Regions from separate parts of the Homo sapiens genome. Here regions 2 and 3 are each linked to region 1. Evidence: promoter capture Hi-C in human tissues and cell types (Jung and others, 2019). All regions are on one chromosome and are shown on one strand. Each heading gives the region's core, a stretch centred on a gene start or on the middle of the fragment in contact. The rest is flanking DNA. Distances are from core to core; before and after follow the strand shown. Region 1 holds the start of SPAG4 (sperm associated antigen 4). Region 2 has its middle 36 kb from the start of NORAD. Region 3 overlaps UQCC1 (ubiquinol-cytochrome c reductase complex assembly factor 1).

What was found. The method cuts DNA at HindIII sites, captures the fragments that hold promoters and counts their contacts. A contact is called where the count stands out against the background at its distance.
Region 2: a fragment that was not itself captured here is called in contact with the fragment with the promoter of SPAG4 in region 1 in 2 of the 25 tissues and cell types used here (aorta and dorsolateral prefrontal cortex).
Region 3: a contact is called between a fragment that was not itself captured here and the fragment with the promoter of SPAG4 in region 1, in 1 of the 25 tissues and cell types used here (bladder).

What each region holds. Positions count from the first base shown.
Region 1 is chr20:35,614,286-35,617,879 of GRCh38, forward strand. SPAG4 (sperm associated antigen 4) reads left to right here and starts at 1,544. Exons shown (of 12, transcript NM_003116.3): 1 at 1,544-2,022; 2 at 2,851-2,955; 3 at 3,235-3,301; 4 at 3,494-3,555. The coding sequence starts at 1,719. RefSeq lists a silencer at 1,590-2,319 and enhancers at 2,750-3,019, 3,050-3,594, 3,230-3,279. The HindIII fragment of the contact is 21,465 bases long and covers 1-3,594 here.
Region 2 is chr20:36,085,402-36,088,995 of GRCh38, forward strand. No RefSeq gene overlaps it. Among named protein-coding and RNA genes, the nearest start is that of NORAD, 36 kb to the left of the region's middle. The HindIII fragment of the contact is 7,451 bases long and covers 1-3,594 here.
Region 3 is chr20:35,319,653-35,323,246 of GRCh38, forward strand. All of the region lies in intron 7 of UQCC1 (ubiquinol-cytochrome c reductase complex assembly factor 1), which reads right to left. Among named protein-coding and RNA genes, the nearest start is that of FAM83C, 29 kb to the left of the region's middle. The HindIII fragment of the contact is 3,522 bases long and covers 1-3,358 here.

The DNA of each region.
Region 1 (3,594 bases), core at 294-2,793:
ATCTAGGTGCTGGAGGATACAGTAGTGAATGAAAATCTGTGCCCTGATTAAGTTTATGTTCTAGTGGGCATGGCAGGCAATAAGGAAATAAATAAATGGGCCAGGCATGGTGGCTCACATCTGTAATCCCAGCACTTTGGGAGGCAGAAGTGGGTGGATCACTCAAGCTCAGGAGTTGAAGACCAGCCTGGGCAACATAGCGAGACCCCATCTCTACAAAAAATACAAAAATTAGCTGGGTGTGGTGGCGCAAGCCTGTAGTCCCAGCTACTCGGGAGGCTGAGGCGGGAGGATTGCTTGAGGCCGGGAGATGGAGGTTGCAGTGAGCTGAGATCATGCCACTGCACTCCAGCCTGGGCAACAGAGCGAGACTCCATCTCAAAGAAAGAGAGAAATGAAATATATAGCATGTTAGTGACACGTGCTGAGGAGAAAAACAAAACAGGGAAGGGGGATAGAAACTGGTATTTGCTAAGTGCAATTTTAGATGGGGTTTTCTAGGAAGTGCTGTGACGTCATCACTTGCTTTAAAAGAGGCCAGGCGCAGTAGCTGACTCCTGTAATCCCAGCACTTTGGGAGCCCCAGGCAGGCGGATAACCTGAGGTCAGGAGTTCACGACCAGCCTGGCCAACATGGTAAAACCCCGTCTCTACAAAAATACAAAAATTAGCCAGGCATGATGGCGGGTGTCTGTAATCCCAACTACTCGGGAGGCTGAGGCAGGAGAATCGCTTGAACCCGGGAGGCGGAGGTTGCACTGAGCCGAGATTGCACTACTGCCCTCCAGCCTGGGCGACACAGCAGGACTCTGTCTCAAAAAATAAAAATAAAATAAAAATAAAAATGCTGGGCGCAGTGGCTCATGCCTGTAATCCCAGCACTTTAGGAGGCCGGGGCGGGTGGATCACCTGAGATCGGGAGTTCAAGACCAGCCTGACTAACATGGAGAAACCCCGTCTCTACTAAAAATACAAAATTAGCCAGGCATGGTGGTGCATGTCTGTAATCCCAGCCACTCAGGAGGCTGAGGCGGGAGAATCGCTTGAACCCGGGAGGCGGAGGTTGCAGTGGACCAAGATCGCGCCATTGCACTCCAGCCTGGGCAACAGAATGAGACTCCATCTCAAAAAAAAAAAAAAAAGAAAGAAAGAAAGAAAGAAAGAAAGAAAGAAAGAAAGAAAGAAAGAAAGAAAGAAAGAAAGAAAAAAACTGTTATAGACTGAGTGCCATTTTAGATGGGGTTTTCTGGGAAGTGCTGTGACATCATCGCTTGCTGTAAAAGAGGCCGGGCGCGGTGGCTGACGCCTGTACTCCCAGCGCTTTGGGAGGCCGAGGCGGGAGGATCGCTTGAGCCTAGGAGTTCGAAGTTACAATGAGCTATGATCAGGCCACTGCACTCCAGCCTGGGCAATGAGAAAGACCCTGTCTCTTAAACAACAACAAAGTCAGAAGGAGAGGCTGCCATGGCTACGGCTCCAGGTGACGTCACGGCCAGCTCCGTGACGCGCGGCCAGGGCAGCCCGCGGAGACCGAGGCTCCTCTGTGACGTCAGCAGCCGGCCGGGACACAGCGGGAGGGCAGGTGCGGCCGCGGGGCCTGCCGACTTCACGCAGGGTCCGTGGGGTCCCCGCGGCGCGCAGCGGCTGAAGGAGGCCCCAGGGCCTTGGCGACCGCAGCGGCGGCTTTAGCGTCAGTGACTAGGCAGCAGGGGGTCAGGATGCGGCGAAGCTCCCGCCCGGGCTCGGCCTCGTCCTCGCGCAAGCACACGCCCAACTTTTTCAGCGAGAACAGCTCAATGAGCATCACCTCGGAGGACAGCAAAGGGCTCCGGTCAGCGGAGCCCGGGCCTGGGGAGCCCGAGGGCAGAAGAGCCCGGGGCCCGAGCTGCGGTGAGCCCGCCTTGAGCGCGGGAGTGCCCGGAGGAACCACATGGGCAGGAAGCTCTCAGCAGAAGCCAGCGCCTCGGAGCCACAACTGGCAGACAGCCTGTGGCGCGGCAACCGTGAGGGGCGGGGCCTCGGGTGCGGGCGGGGTCGACCCCGGGTGAGCCAGTGGAGGGGGCGGGGCCTAAAGGGCGGTGCTGGGCGGGGACGGGGCTAAGATGATATCTGGGCACCTCCTACAAGGTGGGTCCTGTAGGGTAAAGGGATGGTGCTAAATGAGATCCCTTAAGGGGCGGAGCCTCGGTGTCCTGGACGGTTATGGGAAGGGGCGGGGAAAATCTTGTGGTTGGGTGCCACTGAGGGGGCGCGGCCTCAATGTTAGCGTGAGTGGCTCCCAGGACAATTGGGTTCCACCAAGATCTAAGGCTGGGGGCGGGTCATCCGTTTGGGGGAGGGACCAACTCTTTTTTTTTTTTTTTTGCAACGGAGTTTCGCTCCTGTTGCCCATGCCATGCAATGGCATGATCTCGGCTCACCGCAACCTCCGCCTCCCGGGTTCAAACGATTCTCCCGCCTCAGCCTCCCGAGTAGCTGGGATTACAGGCGTGCGCCACCATGCCCGGCCAATTTTTGTGTTTTTAGTAGAGACGGGGTTTCTCCGTGTTAATCAGGCTGGCCTCGAACTCCCGACCTCAGGTGATCCGCCCGCCTCGGCCTCCCAAATCGCTGGGATTACAGGCGTGAGCCACCGCGCCCGGCCAGGAGACCAACTCTTGACGGAGCCTCCCTGAGGGGCGGGGCTTCAGAGGGCGGAGCTGGAGCCGGGATAGGGCTGCGGTGGGACCAAAGCCTGTGAGAGACTTCCCAGCTGTCTGGCTTGTGGACTGAGCAATCTGCGGCCCGGTCTCGAGGGGAAAATAGGTCTGTGGTCCGCAAGGCCCCAGTGGAGCCCTTGGGTTCCCGCAGAACCGACTGGGTCTCCAGTAGTCTCTGAGGAGCCGCTCGACCTTCTCCCGACCCTGGATCTGAGGCAGGAGATGCCTCCCCCGCGGGTGTTCAAGAGCTTTCTGAGTACGGGCCAGGCCAGCTGCGATCCCCTCTGACCCTCGGGTTCCCCTCTCCGAACTCCAGTTCTCTCTGAGCCCCCGGCCCCCGTTTGAGTATCGAGCCCCTCTCCGAGCCTCAACTCATTCCTAGCCCCCATCCAATTATCCTAGCCGACCCTCTCTTCCTGAGCCCCAGGCCCACCCCCGGCCCCTCCCAAGCCCCTTCTGAACCCGGACACCACGCAGGCTGAGCCCCGCCTCTCCCTGCCGTGGGCCCCTCTCTGACCCTCTGTCCTGGCCTCAGGCCTGCTCTTCCAGGGGCTGAGCGTGTTGTTATCCCTGGCAGGAGACGTGCTGGTCAGCATGTACAGGTCAGAGGAAGGGACGCTGGCGCCCCAGGAACAGCTCTTTGGAGGGGGTGGGGAGCAGGGCCGGAACCTTGCTGGCGCTTGAGCCGATTCAGATCTGATTGAGTCATGTTGGCAAGAGCTGGGTCTAGGACCCTGGGGTGGGGACTGGAGGGTTGAGCAGGTCGGGGCCTCAGCCTCCCTCCGGTTCCCCAGGGAGGTCTGTTCCATCCGCTTCCTGTTCACGGCTGTGTCGCTGCTGAGCCTCTTTCTGTCAGGTGAGGGGCAGTGAATTCCCTGGAGCCCCTGCCCTGGGT
Region 2 (3,594 bases), core at 555-3,054, 470 kb after region 1:
ACATGGCAACTGGCTAGGATGGATAATTCTCTTACTGGCCAAGGGAAGGGCAAATAATGGAGAAAAATAATACGTCAACCACAGGGGTTGAGTAACTTTCCCAAGATCAAACCACTGGGAAGGGACAGAGGCAGATTCAAACTCAGACAGTCTCCAAAGCCATAGTGAACTCCATGGCTCCCTACTGCCTGTTAGATGGAATCCAAATATATTTAAGCTTTAGGGCATTCCTGCAGCCTGGAGGGCCCTTCTACCTAATTTGTGTGCTGAATTCACTCTTTAAGGCTCCACTCCAATCTCAACTCCTTGGACTCACTCTTATTTGTCATGTGTTCCCTCTGCTCTAAGGCCCTTGTACAGTGTTCCCAAATGTTTGCAGTATTTTGGGATGAAAGGAGTGAGGGGCACAAGCTGCAAGTGGACTGTGCTCCTGAGGATGAGAGCACTTTGCCTACTTTTCCACCCCTCTAAACTAAGCTTAGTATCTTGTGCTTGGGTGACTCTGACAGGTCAGCCCCGCATGACTCACTCTGTAAGCCTTCAGCGCGGGTCACCACAAGGTCCTGGTTTAGGGTGTGTGAGTTGGTGGGTGGGGAGGGGAGGTGGAAATTAACTTTCACCTTTCAGGAACCTTTCCCTTCCCCAGGAGAAGGACAAGTGTAAGTCCTTCCCTTAAGTAGTCTGGGCAAGTCTCTACTCATCACTCCTAGGAGGACTGGGGAGGTCCTGGAAGGTGCAGAGGAGGAAGCTCTGAGAAGTAGAAACAGCACCAAACTGCACCATAGAAGACTTTACTAATTTGTCCAAATGACAGAATTTACCTTCTCTGAGCTTCAGTTTCCCCAGCTATAAAGTGGCAACAACACTGATCTTGCCCTCCTCCCTAAGTTGCTACAAAAAGACATAGTAAAAATCTTTAGGGTGCCGGGCAGGGTGGCTCACGGCTGTAATCTCAGCACTTTGGGAGGCTGAGGCAGGCAGATCACCTGAGGTTAAGAGTTCGAGACCAGCCTGGCCAACATGGTGAAACCCCATCTCTACTAAAAATACAAAAATTAGCCAGGCATGGTGGCAGGCACCTGTAATCCCAGCTACTTGGGAGGCTGAGACATGAGAATCGCTTGAACCCGGGAGATGGAGGTTGCAGTGGGCAAAGATAGTGCTACTGCACTCCAGCCAGGGTGATGGAGCAAGACTCCATTTCAAAAAAAAAAAAAAAAAAAAATCTTTAAGAATGCAGCCTTGAAATCGCACAGACTTGTACTGGAATCCTTCTCATAAGCTATGTGACTGAGAAAGTTATAGATCTTCATAAGCCATTACAGCTACCTCCCAGGGTGAGAAAATTATGTAAATAAATTTCCTAACATATACTAAGTACTCAATAATGTTGGCTATTCCTATATGAGATGATGAAACTTATTATTATATAGGGAAAGTCCCAGACGAGGACCCATTTTTGAACATTGAAAGGAGGGAGTACAGAGGCTAACTTTTCTTAGAATTGGTTGCTTCTTTTAGCCAAGTATAAGGTGTGGCTCAAAGGAATGAGGAAGCAGTTAATGAGGTGACAGGGCACAGAATACTGTTTGTCTTCACAGATCTTGGGGGAGGGATACAGTGGTTAGCTGACCTTCCCAAAAGATCAGAGATCCTGGTGTCTTGTCCACCCACAGATGCAGGCCACTTGACTCTGTCCTGTCCCCTCCTACCAGTCCAGTCACCACGTTCTGGTGAGGCTGCCTTTGAAATAATAATAACAATGGTACTTGTACTAATGATATTATTACTTTGAAGTGTATGAAGGCTTTCTAATACATCATCCCAGTTATCCTTCATTATCTCTCTCCCATTCACAGAATCCAGAGTTAGGAAGGATATTGCAGATCATTCTGCATTTTACAGATGGGATCTCTGAAATTTGAATAAAGGAAGGGATCTACTCAAGGGCTGGGATTTACCTGAGACTACACAATAAGTTAATGGCAGGGGCAGGACTAGAACCTGCAGCTCCTGACTACCAGCCTAGTGCCAGTGCCTCTTTCAAGTCACACTTGCATTGGCTTTCCATTCCCATGGCCTCCCAGTCTATTCTTTTTTTTTGTTTTTTGTTTTGTTTTGTTTTGTTTTGAGACGAGTTTCGCTCTGTCGCCCAGGCTGGAGTGCAGTGGTGTGATCTCGGCTCACTGCAACCTCCGCCTCCCGGGTTCAAGCAATTCTCTGCCTCAGCCTCCCAAGTGGCTGGGATTACAGGCACCCACCACCATGCCTGGCTAATTTTTTTGTATTTTTAGTAGAGACAGGGTTTCACCATGTTTGCCAGGCTGGTCTTGAACTCCTGACCTTGTGATCCACCCTCCTCGGCCTCCCAAAGTGCTGGGATTACAGGCATGAATCACCGTGCCCAGCCCCAGTCTATTCTTTTATCTCCTGGACCACTGCAGTGGTTTCCTACTGGTCCTGCCTGCCTCTGATCCCTCCCCACCCATTTCTTCTACACATACAGTCACATAATTGTCTGGAAGCACAGCTTTGATCTTGTCTTTCCCTTCCTAATAGAACTTGCCCATTTTTTCAACTTGAGAGGTCACCAGGATCCTAGTTCAATTTCCCAATGAAGACTTAATCTTTCCTTGAATACATATATTGACAAGGAGTTCATCACTCCCAAGGTGGTCCATTCCATTCTTGGGTAGCTCCAACTGTTAGGGAGTTCTTTATAGTGAGCTGAAATTGTCTTCCTGGATATCCCCCCACTGGAGGTGATGTGATGGAATTCTCTTTTTTTTTTTTTTTTTTTTGAGACCGAGTCTCACTGTGTTGCCCAGGCTAGAGTGCAGTGGTACAATCTCAGCTCACTGCAACCTCCGCCTCCCAGGTTCAGCAATTCTCATGTCTCAGCCTCCCGAGTAGCTGGGACTTACAGGCATGAGCCACCAAGCCTGGCTAATTTTTTTGTGTTGTTAGTAGAGACAGGGTTTCACCATGCTGGCCAGGTTGGTCTCAAACTCCTGGCCTCAGGTGATCTGCCTGCCTCGGCCTCCCAAAGTGCTGGGATTACAGGTGTGAGCCATCACACTTGGCCCCTTTTTGTTTTTTTTTTTTTTTAGACAGAGTTTCACTCTTGCTGCCTAGGCTGGAGCGCAGTGGTGTGATCTTGGCTCACTGCAACCTCCACCTCCCAGATTCAAGACATTCAGCCTCCCAAATAGTTGGGATTACAGGCATGTGCCACCACGCCCAGCTAATTTTGTATTTTAGTAGAGACGGGGTTTCACCATGTTGGCGAGGCTGGTCTCGAACTCCTGACCTCAGGTGATCCACCTGCTCGACCTTCCAAAGTGTTGGGATTACAGGCGTGAGCCACAGCACCTGGCCAATGGAATTCTTTCGTATCCATTCTGGCAGCAAATCTGTAGTCATTGTTTCATAGGAACCAGGTCCTGGATGGACTAGGTGCTGAGGAGAACAGCATATAAATTTGATATGGATCCTTCCCTCAGAGAGGGTGGCCTAGGAGTTTGCTAATGCAGAATTTTTTGTTTTGTTGATTAGACCTAAACGAAAGGAAACAAAGCAAATCCTCTTTCTGTA
Region 3 (3,594 bases), core at 348-2,847, 290 kb before region 1:
AAAAAAGGAAGGGATGCAAGAGTTCAGGGTTACTAATCGGCAGATTAATGAATGAGACAACCAACAGAGAACACAAGTAAGGCAATAATGAATCTTGCAGGGCACATGTTTAATTAAAGTAGCATTCTCAAGGAGGAATATTAGCTTTAAAGAGATGCCAGTTCATTTGAGGCCAATTCGCTGCTCTCTTTCCCCTTTTCACTGTTGCTGCCTTAAAGATATTTATGTGACTGCTTAACAGAGGAACCAGACTATGTGGATACAGGGACTGATGGGAGATCAAGTTTTAACTCCTCCATGGACTCTACAAGGCTTCTAGTGATCTGCTCTTGGCCATCTTTTTTGCCTCCCCTCCTCTTGCCTCCCCATCTTACTTCACCCTGCAGTCAGTAAAGTATGTGCACAGATACATCATGCTGTCATCTATTTCTTAGTCATACTGCTGCCAGGAATTCTTCTCTTCTTTATCCACTGATGGAAGGGATGCTAACTCCTTATCCTCTAAGACTTAGCACACATATTTTCTCTACTAAGTCTGCCCTCTCCCCCATCTACAGGTGCCCCAAAGTGATTCAAGTCTGGAGACGGGTCCCATCATTCATTATTTACCAAGTGCCAATAACTGTGCTACAACTTTACACATTAGCCCACTTAAACCTTCCCAAGGACTCTAAGAGACAGGAACTGTTACTGTCTCCACTTTAGAGAAGAGGAATCTGATGTTTGGGAAAGTTAAAGCTAGACAGCTAGGAAATAGTGGGGTCAAGATAAGAATACAGAGCAATCCAACTCCATTGCCTACCTGTGTTGGAATAGACACTGGAAGGAATGTAGCTGCCCCTTCCTGTGCCCCACAGCTCAGGCTATCTGCAGAGGCAGAACTAAGAAATGCTAATGTGGTCTTGAGTAAACACAACTCAGAGATTCCAGTTCCAGTGGCAGCTAGAGACAGCCACCAGATGGGTCATCAGTGGCCGGTTACTAATACATCAGATATCCCTAGTAGAGCCAAGCTCCACTCCTGGGAAAACCTGAGGTTGAGAGTGGGTGTAATTATGGTGGGGGAATGGGAAAACAGAAGAAAGTTGGTATGGAAAACACTGATGAGCATGAAGGTGAGAATAAGCTTTAAGGTTACTGGCTTGAAGCAAAGTTGCTAACAGTAGCAGACTAAGAATTTGCTGGAATGAATGAATGACAAAGGACAGCTAGAGTTGCTGGCTGAAGCCTAAGGACTATATCAAATTCATCATAAGGCAACAATGCAACACAAGATTGTAGGTCATGTTTTAGTTTGCTGTAGTAGACAGTAATGCCACCACCAATGCTTTGCAGTGCCAACGCCATGTTCTACAGTCATTGTGCGGCAACAGGCTGATGTGCACTGAACATCAGCTAGCCTATTTAAAGTTCAGGTTAGAAATTAGCCCACTGTGGAATATTTTGTGAGATACTTAGAAACAGAGTAAGAGTAGACAGACAAGAGAGACGGGGGACATGGAGAGACCAAATAAAAAAGTCTACCTGTTAACTCACATGCATTACGACTGAAAGATCTATTGAGGGTCTTTTAGCAATGATGACAAAATACAAACAAAACTGTGTGTGTGTGTGTGTGTGTGTGTGTGTGTGCGCGCGCGCGCGCGCACGCTCAGGCACGCATGCATATTGAGCAGTTCCAGAAAAAGTTGTTAATACCAAGAATAAAAAGAAAAATATTTTAAATGAAAGACAATTTCTTTTTCTCTTTTTAGAAAATAATGTGAACATTTAAATAGAGTATGTTCCCGTTGCGATGAAAGGCCAACCTAAACCCAGCATGAGGAGGTCCATTTTAAAATCCATTTTAAACATTTCAAACTTTTAATGTACAAGGGAAGCTTGCTATGATGACATGCTGTTTAAAAATATTCCCTTATTGGCTGGGCAAGGTGGCTTACGTGTATAATCCCCATGCTTTGTGAGGCCAAGGCAGGTGGATCACTTGAGGCCAGGAGTTCAAGACTAGCCTGGACAAAAAAGTGAGGTCCTGTCTCTACAACATAGTAATAATAATACAAACCCCTTTCTTATTTATTTTGAAAATTCTAGTTTTGCTGCTTGGGATCTACATGTTCAAGACTGCATAGCCTGATAATGTGCTGAAAAACAAGGGACATGGTTGGCAGACAGAATTGCAGAACCAGCAGCCCTAATTTCTATATAGTCACGAAGTACAGGAGTCCTTCCCTCAGGCTTGGAAAATAGCCAAGAGAGAAGAGATGTATGTCCTCAGAAATTCTAGTCATTTGTCCAGTTGAGAAAACATGAGAACACATAATATTAAGTCCACAATCATCTTCAAAAGGAGCTGATGAGGTACACTACGGTTCTGGGATGATCAAACTACCATGGCAATTTAACTTTCGTCTCTTTTAGGGCATTTGAATAAGGGGAACATTATAGCTATAATCTACTTTGGTTTCTGGAAGCTTTTTGTAGTATTCCACATGACAAGTCTCATGCATACTCATTAGAGAAGCCAACACCTGGCTTGAAAGAGTCGCAGTTTCAACAACAGCACTGATGGTGCGGAGTCCTAAAGGAAATAATCCTGGGTACTATCTAAAATCCGTACTGATAATAATGATGACAGTGATGGTCGTAACAATGATTACACAATGCATTTAATAATATTTTCATTTTATTATCTTATTTGTGCCTCACAACCACAACCCTGCCCTCGAGGAGCTCACAGCCAAAATGCTATTGTTGTCCTGATTCTATAAACAAGGAAACAGAAGCTCAAAACTGTTAAGTGGCCAGGTGCGGTGGCTCACGCCTGTAATCTCAGCACTCTGGGAGGCTGAGGTGGGCCGATAACCTGAGGTCGGGAGTTCGAGACCAGCCTGGCCAACATAGTGAAACCCCATGTCTACTAAAATACAAAAAATTAGCTGGGCATAGTGGCGCATACCTGTAGTCCCAGCTACTCAGGAGGCTGAGGCGGGGGAACCATTGAACCCGAGAGGCAGAAGTTGCAGTGAGCCAAGATTGTGCCACTGCACTCCAGCCTGGCAACTGAGCAAGACTCTGTCTCAAAAAACAAAAACAAAAACAAAAACAAAAACGTTAAGTCACTTGTAGTCAAATCACATCCTGCTTGTAAGTGACAGTGCTGGGACTTTTAACTCAGATGGTCAGTCTCTAAATCTACTGTCTTTTCTTTTTTTTGAGACGGAGTCTTGCTCTGTCACCCAGGCTGGAGTGCAGTGGGACCATCTCGGCTCACTGCAAGCTCCGCCTCCCGGGTTCACGCCATTCTCCTGCCTCAGCCTCCTGAGTAGCTGGGACTACAGGCGCCTACCACCATGCCCGGCTAATTTTTTGTATTTTTAGTAGAGACGGGGTTTCACCGTGTTAGCCAGCATGGTCTTGACCTCCTGACCTTGTGATCCGCCTGCCTCAGCCTCCCAAAGTGCTGGGATTGCAGGCGTGAGCCACCGCGCCCGGCCCCAATCTACTGTCTTTTCTAAGCGATCACACCTTTCTGCTTCTGATGAGTCATATGAGAAATGGAAGAATCACACAAGCACAAAGCTAAAATTGCTCATT